Linked DNA regions of Homo sapiens: region 1 is linked to region 2. Evidence: promoter capture Hi-C in 16 types of primary human blood cells and fetal thymus (Javierre and others, 2016). All regions are on one chromosome and are shown on one strand. Each heading gives the region's core, a stretch centred on a gene start or on the middle of the fragment in contact. The rest is flanking DNA. Distances are from core to core; before and after follow the strand shown.

The links. Contacts are between HindIII fragments. The CHiCAGO score rates a contact against its expected background, and 5 or more counts as called.
Region 1: a contact is called between a fragment that was not itself captured here and the fragment with the promoter of PALLD in region 2, in 2 of 17 cell types (naive B cells and total B cells). The highest score is 8.8, in naive B cells.

The regions. Positions count from the first base shown.
Region 1 is chr4:169,556,334-169,562,553 of GRCh38, reverse strand. NEK1 (NIMA related kinase 1) reads left to right here. Exons shown (of 36, transcript NM_001199397.3): 13 at 358-417; 14 at 663-722; 15 at 817-867; 16 at 1,000-1,074. Among named protein-coding and RNA genes, the nearest start is that of NEK1, 53 kb to the left of the region's middle. The HindIII fragment of the contact is 2,449 bases long and covers 797-3,245 here.
Region 2 is chr4:168,493,400-168,499,552 of GRCh38, reverse strand. PALLD (palladin, cytoskeletal associated protein) reads right to left here and starts at 2,501. Exons shown (of 22, transcript NM_001166108.2): 1 at 2,359-2,501. The region is part of intron 1 of LOC107986198 (a long non-coding RNA gene); the gene reads left to right. The HindIII fragment of the contact is 1,197 bases long and covers 2,110-3,306 here.

The DNA.
Region 1 (6,220 bases), core at 772-3,271, 1.1 Mb before region 2:
ATACTGAATATATATTGTGTCACTAATTTTTTTAAAAAAATTATCTCCATCATTGGGCTTTTCAAATGATAGTCTATGATAATATTGGAAAACTTAAACATCCATACCTGAACACAAAACTGTTTAGTTGATGATTGGGGAAGGACCCTTTTCCACAGTTTCTTTGAATCTAATGTTTCTCTTTGTTTAACAGCATATCAAAGACTACGATTTTTTTTTTTAAGATAATGTAATTTGGAAGAGAGTTATGGAAGTATTGACTTTACCTTTTTCTTATCTTAAATTTCTGTAAATTTGGGATTTTCAAATAAGTGCCTCAAAATCTTTATTTAATTTGTAGTTTTACTTTTTGTCCAGGCCCATCAAACTCCAGAGAAGAGAGTGAATACTGGAGAAGAAAGGAGGAAAATATCTGAGGTATAAAGACATCTGTCTGGTTATTTTAAAGCTTTGCAAACATAATTTTAAAAAAGAAACAAAATCTTACTATAAAGCCTCCAAACCTTTCCTTATTTCTTTCAAACGAATACCTATAACTTCTTTTTTTTTTTAAAAAAAAAACCTCATTGAACATACCTCTGCCATTGGTGTACTAACTTTCCTGATGAAACTAGAAAAAACAGGAATTATTATGGATTAAAATGTTCTTTTTTTTATTTAAGGAAGCAGCAAGAAAGAGAAGGCTGGAATTTATTGAAAAAGAAAAGAAACAAAAGGATCAGGTAGTTTTTTGCTCTTGTTTTTCTACCTTTGGCAAGTTGTTAAGTGATAATAGGTTCAAGAGTTGTAAGAAGCTTGTCTTTAAAATTGTTACAGATTATTAGTTTAATGAAGGCTGAACAAATGAAAAGGCAAGAAAAGGAAAGGGTAAGAGGATAATCTATTAAATATACTTTTTTCTTAAGGAATACACTGATTTTCAGTTTATTGCTAAATGTATTACGTGTATTTTATATTAAATACTTGAAATGGTGTTTTGTTTATTTCTTTTCCCCAAAGTTGGAAAGAATAAATAGGGCCAGGGAACAAGGATGGAGAAATGTGCTAAGTGCTGGTGGAAGTGGTGAAGTAAAGGTAGGCATTTTATACCAATATGGTTATACTACCATTTTCCCCTCCAGTTCCACCTTGTTCTATAAAATGCATGTACTTGGGATTTTCTTTCTTTCTTTAGTGTACAATTAATTTTTACCTAGAATTCTTTAACATTTATTATGAATACTTAGCTTTCCTGCATGTATCTGATATGTAACTTGTGTTGCTGTTATGTGACTATACTCAAAATTGCTTTAAAAGTTTTTTGTGAAGACTATGATAACATTATTCCTGTCAGGAATTTTTAAAAATTATGTACAATTCATGACACTGCAGCCTAAAATCGTTCTGTAATTTCATGTAGCCTTGAAGATTAAGTTCTCAGAAGATGCTTCTTAATCTGATCCCTGTTGTCTCTCCAACTTCATCACCATCCATTCCCTACCACATACTGTATGCTCTATTCATGCTGAAATGAAGACTATATTTGTAGTTTCATTACTATATGTGGTTTGCCAAATCTCTTTGTCTTTGCACTTGTGTTTCCTTTTACTTAATAGCACTCTCCATCCCTCCTCACCCTCACGTCCCACCTCCATCCATTTAGCTAAATAACCAGTTACATAGATGAGTTAATCTAAACATTCCTTCTGGGTAGATCCACCCTATTTAACCTTGGGCACATTACTGAACTTTTCTGAGCTTTGGTTTCTTGATTTAAAAAAAAAAAAAAGTTTTTTTTCCAAGAACAGTGCCTGGAACCTGTCTGGCAAGGGCTTCTATAGTAATTTCCCTTTCCTTTCTTTGTTCTGCCAGTCTGAATCTTATACTTCCTCTTTTATTCATACAGCATCCTATACATATCTCTATTTGTAGTTGGTAGAATTCTAAGATGGTCTCCAAGATTCTCAACTGCGGTATACACACCTTGTGTTATTCCATTCCCTTGAGTATAAGTGGTACCTGTAAATACTGTAGTATAGCAGCTCACTTGATTAGGTTATGTTATATGGCAAGTGGTGATGGGATGGTCTCTCCCAGGGTTACGTTAACATATAAGACTCCTTCATAGCTGACTGGAAGGGGAAAAGAAATTAGAGAGAGAGAATTCTGCTCACCTGGAAGATAGTAAACATTCATGTGGCAAAACAGTAGAGATGACCTCTACAAGTAGTGGTCTCTAATGAGCAACTAGCAAGAAAATTGTGGTCCTAGTCATACAGCCACAAGGAAATTAATTCTGCCAAGAACCAGTAAACTTGGAAGAGATCCTGAGTCTCAGGTGAGAATTGTAACCCTGGCTGACACCTTGATTTCTGCCTGGTGAGATCCTGAGGAGGGGACCCAGCTAAATGCACCCAGATTCCTGAGCCAGGGGAACTGAGATTATAAATAGATATTGTTTTAAGCTACTAAATTTGTGATAGTTTGTTATACAGCAATAGAAGATGAATGCACTAATTTGTATCATTGAATAAACTGTAAGTCAATACATCTTTTTATTTTTTTGAGATGGAGTTTCGCTCTTGTTACCCAGGCTGGAGTGCAATGGCACGATCTCAGCTCACTGCAACCTCTGCCTCCCGGGTTCAAGCGATTCTCCTGCCTCAGCCTCCGGAGTAGCTGGGATTACAGGCATGCACCACCACGCCCAGCTAATTTTGTATTTTTAGTAGAGACGGGGTTTCTGCATGTTGGTCAGGCTGGTCTCGAACTCCCGACCTCAGGTGACCTGCCTGCCTCGGCCTCCCAAAGTGCTGGGATTACAGGCGTGAGTCACCGTGCCCAGCCTAAGTCAATACATCTTCAAACTATAAGTTTCACTCATGTACACCCATTAATCTTGATATTTAGATGTACAATAGATACTTGTCAAATTGGATCAATTATAATTCTTGGTTTTTTTTCTCCAAAAGTTATAATTTGAATAAAAGTTTGTTTTATCTAGACATATACATTCTGCCCTGGATTTATAGATTTGTTTTTCAGTCTCTTGAGGTGCAGAAGTTCTTCATATCATAGTAATAATTCATTAAGAGTAACTTTTTCCAAATTTGTATTAATATAGATTATACAGTGTTTTTAGTAGTATAATTTTATCTTACCTTTAAGTAGAACTTATTACCTCCTGAATGATCAGGAATGACTTAGAATCTGGTCCATTCTAAAATAACTAACCTCACATCTTACCTGATTGGAAAGAGAAAGCTTATCAACTTGTACTCCTTCAGATCTCAAGCATTTTTTTATCAAGTCCGTGATTAGCACTGAAGTTTTGATGATTTATTCTTCTCCCTTTTGTGTAATAAAGTGCTTTTTCCTATGATGTCTAATACAGTATTAATCAGTTTTATTAATGTTTAATAACTGAGACAATTTTCAAGTTACATACTGTGTACTGAATAGATTTCTGCATCACTTTATAAACTTCTGTAATGCTTTCATTGAAGATTAATAAAACAATTTATTTTCCATGATTTAAAGGAAATTCTATGTTAGTTTCTATATTTATTCCTCATTGAATTTGAAATATTTTAACTTGTTAGGCTGTTTGATTTCTACATAGTTGATAAGGACCTGGAGGCTCAGTATCATATGAATCAAATTAAGGAGATTCCCCAAAAGAAAGATAAAACTAAAACTAAAGTATTTCAAAATTAATACTATTATTACGTACTTCTAAATAAGAGGCATTTTTATTCATAGTATAAATATCCAATGTAAATGTTTTTGATTATTTAGTATCTGCAAAATCTGGACCTTCTTTGTTTTATCCATTTTTAATGTGTCTTTTATGAATGTGTTTTTAGAAAAATTATATATTCCACATGTATGGTTATATGGTGATTATAATATGGAAGAGGTGTATCTCTTGTTTGAAAATATATTGGAATACCATTTGGCAGTAAAAAGAATAGCCTGTTTATACATGCAACACCATGGATCAATCTTAAAAACCTGTGAGTGAAAGAAACCAGATAAAAGAGTACATATTTATGATTTTATTTACATGACATAATGGGAAAGGCAAATCCAACCTGTAGTGACGGAAAGCAGATCAGTGGTTGCTGACAGTGCGAGCATTTACTGCAAAGGAACACAAGGGAACTTTCTGGGGTAATGGATATGCTTTTGATTGTAGTAGTGGTTATGTGAGTGTCTACATTTGTCAGAATTCAGCCTGTGCTTACAATTGGTGAATTTTTATTGTACATAAATTATGTCTCAAACAAACATATTTCATCAGTATTCTCATATAGTATTTTCAACATTATTTTGAGTATGAGCATCTTCTGAGATGTTTACCTACTTTTGTTTTTGCTAAAGAGAAATGGAGCACTCAGTCAAGTTAAGATGATATTAGCATTGGGCTAAATTCAAAGAGTAACCAGTTTCATAGGAAATATGACCACCTTATAACTGAATTCTGATTCTTGACTTCAGATGTACATTTTGAGGATGTATGTAAGGACCACCTTGATGGAAGACAAATTTTGTCTTATTGGGTTACACTGAAGTTTCTTTTATTGGATTCTGACATTTTTCTTTGTTTCTTTTATTATTATTTTATTTATTTACTTATTTTTTGAGACAGGATCTCACTCTGTCACCCAAGCTAGATTGCAGTGGTGGGATCATGACTCACTGTAGCCTTGACCTCCTGAGTTCAAGCAATCTTCCCATCTCAGCCTCCTGAGTAGCTGGGACTACAGACACATGCCACTGCGCCCGGCTAATTTTTTGTATTTGCAGGGATGTTGTTTCGCCAATTTGCCCAGGCTAGTCTCGAACTCCTGAGCTCAAGCAATCTGCCCACCTCAGCCTCCCAAAGTGCTGGGATTACAGGCATGTGCCACCATGCCTGGCCTTTGTTTCTTTTTTTAACCAGGCATTTTCCTTAAGATGTTATCACCTGGAAGTTTTCCCTTTTTTACTCTCATTATTGTGGCTTCTGTTCTCATCACTTCACACACTCAGAAAATGGTTTTTTTAAAGGCTTCCACTCAGCCTTAGTCATATCTGGTGGTCTTATTCTCAGATAAGAAAAGTTAAAATAAGTTGACCTTTGCATTTGAGGTTATTGATTTCTTCTTAATGAAATTCTTTCACCATGACTTCTGTAGCATTATACAGTTTTTATTTACTTTTACCCTTATCCTTTTCTGACATCTCTATTTTTTACTATGAGTTTTCCATGTGGTTGAGTTCTTATGTCTCGGTGGTTGAGTCTTTAAGTCTTTGCCTTTATCCTTTGTCATTCCTGCAGAGAATCCAAACTTCCTTCAGCAGTTACTTTTTCATTGATTGCCTTTCTTGGCTTTCCAGGCTTCTTGGCTTGGTGTCAGGGCAGCAACATCCTTCTAATTAATTCCTCTGCCTTACTTTCTTATTTCTGCTTACCATGCATAATATTGACTTACTGACCTTTAAAACTCTGTTGATATACTACTGCTGCTAGAAACTTTATAAATCCTTTCTATTGTTATTTATTATTTGAACGCAAACACCAAGGGCAGATAGCATTTAGCATTTAGCTATACCAAGCTTTTATAGCCAAACTTAATACTTAATACTTTGCCTTCCTTGTATTTGTCATCATACTTCCTTCCTCTTCCACCTTCCATACCTAAATATATACATACATTGATTATTTTTACTTTAATGCCTTGGCTCATATTTACTCTCCTTACATTGCTATCAAGACCAGATTAAACAATATCTCTCCCCAAGGCCTTTTTTCTAAATAAGGATTTTACTGTTGATTTTTTTTTTTTTTTTTACTGTTTTGTGGATTTGCTCAGCACTTACTACTTTGGAATTTCTCTGTTGTCACTTGTTTACCATAGAATTGAATGTTTTTCTAGTTTTGTGCTATTTTTCCCAACTTACTTGGAAACTAAAGATAGATATGACTTTTTGCCTCTTTTATATACATATAGAACATGTTTTAATAATGTTTATACCTTCATATCTGCTTGGTGAATTTAAAGATTTGGGGTATATTAAAAGCCATATGCAGATGTTTTTGTTAAATATAATTCTGAGTGTTATATAAAAGGAGGCTCTCATAAGCTATACATAAACAACGGAACAGAATTACATGAAATGTATATTGGAAGCTTGTTTCAAAACCTGTTAATTAAGATCAAATTTTTCCATATTTACATGAAATTAGTGTCATTTT
Region 2 (6,153 bases), core at 1,252-3,751:
TTTTCATATTTAAGCAATTACTAAAAAAGTAATGCAAACCATTGATACAAATATTAGATATTGAAATATCTTTTAATAAAACCTAAACTATGAAAACCAAAGTTAGAAAAGCTTTAACACTTAATTTTCATGCTTCAGAATCACAGGCAACCCCCCTAGACTAAATCAATAAAGTCCCTCCCTTCCTCCCTCCCCCCTCCCTCCCTTCTGCCTCCCTTCCCCCTTCTTCCATGTCTCCCTCCCTTCCTCCCTCCCATCCTCCCTCCCATCCTCCCTCCCATCCTCCCTCCCTTCCTCCCTCCCTTCTCCCTTCCTTCTTCCCCGTCTCCCTTTCTTTCTTCCTTCCTTTTTTTTTTTTTTTTTTTTTTTTTTGCTACAAAGGGTCCTTTAGGGCAAAAGTCAAACACGAAAATTTTATGAAATTTTATGTTTGATGCAGAAAATGCACTACAATTTTATAATTTATTTCTTAATAAATACACATGGATTATTTTCCTTTCTAATTATTAAATTGTCAATGCAGGCAGATATATTTATCCTACAGTTTTAAATATCTCTTTAAACAGCTTATTTAATCTCAATTTCAAGGACATAATCTAATAGCTCATTTAATGCAGAAACAGCCAAATAAGATACTTTACAGAGTTTTTGAAGTTATCCCATGTCCTGTTCATCTTATCAACTTTATTCACCATACTGAGTCCATTGCAAATATTTAGATTTTACTTCTGAATTATCCATTTCCATTACCATTATCCAATTCAGGGCTTTATTCTTCTCACTTAAATTCAAAACCTATTTACCAAATTTGCTTCTATATTCTCTAATATGATTTAACAGTTAGAAATTTTAGTCGAAGATACTTTGTTCAATCTTTGTTTTCTTTGCTGTAATTTCACCGGGACACAGTCATTAACTCTAGATGGCCTGAATTTCTAACTGGAGCTCAGTAATTGCAATACCCTTTGACAGCCTCCACACACATATTGTTTAAGAAGTGGAGCTCTTGTCTGGGCCTTGCAGATTCCACTTGGTATCTCTTAAAGAACTTGTCATATTTATTTTTAAACCTGAATAATGATTGCCCTCTACATTTTTAAAAAATGAGGTAAGGAGGTCAAAGTGATTGTACTTGTCCAGTGCAATCCAGATCCTCATTCTATTGTGAAATATGCTATAAGGCCAGTTTTAATATTCAGCTCTAGCAATAACAGAGAAACCCAGAGGAAGAGCTGACACAGAACCCCTGGGATACAGACCCTAATCCATACCAGATTCTAGGATGCCAGAGGACTAATTTATATTCTAGGAATGTGTAATCATGTATTTACAGGGCAGTTAGTGGCCAGATAAACCTCATCGGCCTTTTCTGCTGTTAGCAATAACTTGTCAAAGAGACTTTGATTTTAAAAATCTGAAAAAAAAATCTGAATAATTGAGGTGAGTATTCAAGTTCTTTCTGTGAGAAAAAACATTGGAAGGCACATTTATCATGAAATGAGGATTTAATTTCTGCATATATGTGATTGAATAGATTTGTAATAGTTTTATATTGCCAAGAAATGGCTTTATATGTCACCACATTATTCATACTAGAAGGCAATTAGTATTTTTAGCAAATGTTAATAAGTAATATGAGCCTGAAATCATTTTATGTCAACCTCCTATATTGGATTCAAGACAATTTCATGTGCAACTTAAAACAACATGATAAAAATTATTCTGTGATGTTTAAACTTGACTGGACTCGAGATTGCACTGTGGTTTCCCTTAGTAAGCGTTATCTTATTAAAAATATGTATGTAAATTTTATGCATGAATATAATTTAAAATACCTGCTGTTACTATCCCAACTCATTTAATTATGTCCAGTGAGTTACTTTTAGAATCTTTTGAAAGTGTAATTAACAATTTATAATGTTACTGAAATCTAAGGTCTATCACTTTAAGCCATCATCACTTATCTAGCTTAAATATGGGTGAGGGTCTAGAAAGCTGCGTTTTCCTTTTCTGTGAAACATAACACATACACGATCTTGACAAAAGCTGGCTCCATAAATACATTTAATCCTTTTGGAATTGATAGCACCATCTTAGCATGCTTAAGCTTATAACAGAAAGTGTAATTCTCTGACAGCAAAGGCAGAGATGAAGTGGGCAGGCAAATCTTACGTATTATCTGTTTTTGGCAAAACCGTAACATTCTCATTACGTTTCCTCTCCAAGCAAAAGAATAATTAAGGTATCTTGTAAATAGTATCATATCTTCAGAAAAACTTTTGTATTTTTAGTTTTTTTTTTTTTAAGTCCTTAAAATGTTGCCCTACTAGTTAGTATATTAAGATACACCTTACAGACCTTTTCAATGCTTGGTCAGTTTGAAGACTCCAGAGAGGTGATGAATTTCAGATGAGCATTTCTTCTTTTCTGGGAGAATGGAGGTTGTGGCCTTGCCTATTCATTAGAGACTGCCTGGTCCGTGGTCACTTTGAGGCAACTGTGGCCTCAGACTCTCATCTGTCCTCTTACTCCACTCAGCTATATTTGGTAACTGAGCTCATGTTTCAGCAGACTGCCACGATCAGGAATTCCAGCAGCGGGCTGGGAAGCACCCCCAGGACCGAGGGCTGGGTTCTTAGAAATAAAGCCACTTAACATAGAAGGAACTATATTTATGGATCTGATAAACGTAGGATTTAAACACATTCTTCTATACTTTGGACTTGTAGCTGGAAATCACCACCTGGACCTTTAACATGTTCTTAATCAATTTAAAGTACAGTATGTGACTCCAAGTAGAAAAAGTGATAATCCAAATGGAAGCTCTTCTTACTCTGATCTTCTGTTCTGTGCATTTAAATTTTGGTCATGTGCTAGATTACCCTAAAATAGTAAATTCAGTAACTGAAAATTTAGCCACCTGTCAAATTGAGTGGAAAGTCCCATTGTTCTCTTATTTCATATTGCTAATTAAAAATTGATATATGACTATGGTATGTATTAAAGGCCTTGTCTATAATAGTATTAAATAAGTATGAACACACAGGGACTGGATCTTATCCACATTGCAACATTGAGTTCTTAGCTCAATGCCTAGGACATCATGAGCATCTCTTAAATATTTGTCAAAGAAATAAATGAATGTTGAATGAATAATATTCAGGAAAAGTATCAACCCTCTTACAGTTGCAAAAAATGTTTCACAATCATTTAATATTTTGATCTTTCAAATGACAAATAGATATAGCAAGAGTTTAATATTTTGATCTTTTAAATAACAAACATAGATAGCAAGAAGAGAAAGCTTTTCTGTTTAAAGGTCAGGTAGCAGAATCAAATATAAGGGGGGCAAAAAGAGCAACACAAAAGCTCCCAGTTAACTTGGAAATGGGGTGCTGAGTCTTCCTTTGTCTGGGTAAGACCATCACATTTGATTCAGTTTAATATCTAAATATTTTTTCTTTTCTGATGTTAGAAAATTTGTGAAGGTCTGCTATTGTATTTTCTTTATAGGCCAAACTGGTCCTTTAGAAATGGTCCTTTCTGTGAGTGGATACTTCTGTGGGTCATTTCATCTATTATATTAATTAAGAAGTGATTTTAAAATTTATACTTACGGCTGGGCGTGGTGGCTTATGCCTGTAATTGCAGTACTTTGGGAGGCCGAGGTGGGTGGATCATGAGGTCAGGAGATTGAGACCATCCTGGCTAACACAGTGAAACCCCCTCTCTACTAAAAATACAAAAAATTAGCTGGGCGTGGTGGCGGGTGCCTGTAGTCCCAGCCACTTGGGAGGCTGAGGCAGGAGAATGGTGTGAACCCGGGAGGCGGAGCTTGCAGTGAGCCGAGATCCCATCACTGCACTCCAGCCTGGGTGACAGAGCGAGACTCCTTCTTAAAAAAAATAAAAATAAAAATAAAAAAATAAAATTTATACTTACAAGGAAATATAACTCTGATTGATTGTCTTAGTTTGTGTCATTATAACAAAATGCCACAGACTGGGTAATTTACAAAGAACAGAAATTGATTTCTCATAGTTCTGGAGGCTGGGAAGTCTAAGATCAAGGTGCCAGCAGGTTTGTTGTCTGGTGAAGTTCCTGTCTCTGCTTCCACAGTGATGCCTTGAGCACTGTGTCCTCACATGGCAGAAGGTGGAAGGGCAAGAGGGGGTCAAACTTCCTCCATCAAGCCCTAAGGGCATCAAATCCCATTCATGAGGAGTCCTCCTGAATCACCTTCTAAACGTTACACCTCCTGATACTGTTGCATAGGGGATTAGGAATCAACAAAAATTTTGAAGGGGACAAAAACCTTCAAACCATAGCATTGCTTAAACACATATTTATATCTGCTTTTTCCTAAAACCACAAGATAATAGTAAAAACTGAAAAGGGCAGAAATTGGGAGGGAAGACAATAGAAGATATCAGAAATGAACAAAATTGTTGGAAAGAGATAAATATAAGTATGCATGTAACTAAATTACAAAGCTTAAATGCCTGCAGGAGGAGATACAGAAAAGAAGCAAGTGATTCACCCCATGGAGTCTCAGAAAGGCTTGGGAATAGGAAGCAGTGAACCCATCTTTAGAAATAATTTTAATTGGCAACTCTGATTTTTGCCTCTGCCTTCTGGTGAACTGTGAGTCTCATGGTGAATTCCAGAGGCAATCATGTTGGACTACTGGCCAGACGAGGCCTCTCCCACATTTCTTTGGATTGCTTGGTTCCTAAATCCTGGTATAACACCAGTGAAGTGATGAAGCCATAAGAAGAAAAAAGAAAAAAAAACAGCTTGTGGTCCTGAGAGAGGCTTCAAAGATGGATATGACTTTACTCAAAAGGACACAGAAATGTGACCTTTTTGTGTGTGTATTGCAAATAGTGCAGCAAACCAAGCTTGTTTTAAAAATCTTATAAGAAGTTCTTTTCCTTAGAAAATTGGCATCAAAAAAATTTAGAAAGTTTGATCAACACTCTTAAGTTAGTATAGCAAGGTCCAGTTGATATTAAGGATGAGATTAGTGTGTGGACAGTAATATCATTTCTCATGCACTTTCATATTTTCCACCAGAGCCCATTTCTGTGTGCACGAAGGTTGGGAAAGGGAGTCTGTGGCTCCTTCATGGGGCTCCAGTTCAGCTTTCAAATGATTACTTCTTCTTATAGAAATTCCTGCTCTTTTGAAGCACTTATATTTGCATCAACCATCCTCCATCCCACTTTTTAAAATTAAGACTTTGGATCTAGTTGGGCTCTTGGTTCTCTTCTTCACTCCACACCCTGCCATTATTCTGGGTGACTCAGCACCCATTTGTCTATTCTATATGTTGGCATATTGGTTTTGGACCTGCTTTTCTCTATGAATCTTCATCTCTGTTCCTCTTACAGATCACACAAACAGACCTCCTCCACCTCCAAAATCAGATATAACTTATCTACTGCTTCATAACAAATTACTGCAAAAATTAATGTCTTAAAACAATATATATTTGTTATTTCACACAGTTTCTATGTGTCAGGAATCCATTAGTCTTAGCTGGGTAATTCCAGATCAGGGTATCATGAGATAGTACTGAAGATGTTGCCCCAGCTTCTTTCAGGTGGAAGCATGGCTGGGGCTGGAAAATCTGCTTCCAAGGCAGCTCACTCACGTGCCTGGAAAGTTAGTCCTGTTATTGGCTGGAACCCTGTTGACTTCTCTGTGTCACTGCCTGAGTTTCCTAGCTTCATGGCAGCTGGATTGTGCCACAATGTCTTTTTTTTTAAAGTGGAGTTTTGCTCTTGTTGCTGGAGTGCAGTGGCATGACCTCAGCTCACTGCAACCTCCACCTCCTGGGTTCAAGTGATTCTCCTGCCTCAGCCTCCCAAGTAGCTGGGATTACAGGTGCCCACCACCACGCCCAGATATTTTTTTGTATTTTTAGTAGAGATGGGGTTTCACCATGTTGGCCAGGCTGGTCACAAACTCCTGACCTCAGGTGATCCACCCACCTCAGCCTCCCATAGTTTTGGGATTACAGGTGTGAGCCACCGCGCCCGGCCCCATTATATCTTTTATGATCCAGCCTTGGAGGTCATATTTCGTCTTTCCCGCAGTATCCTTTAGTTATACAAATTGGCAGTATCCACTGTGGGAGGAGACTGCATA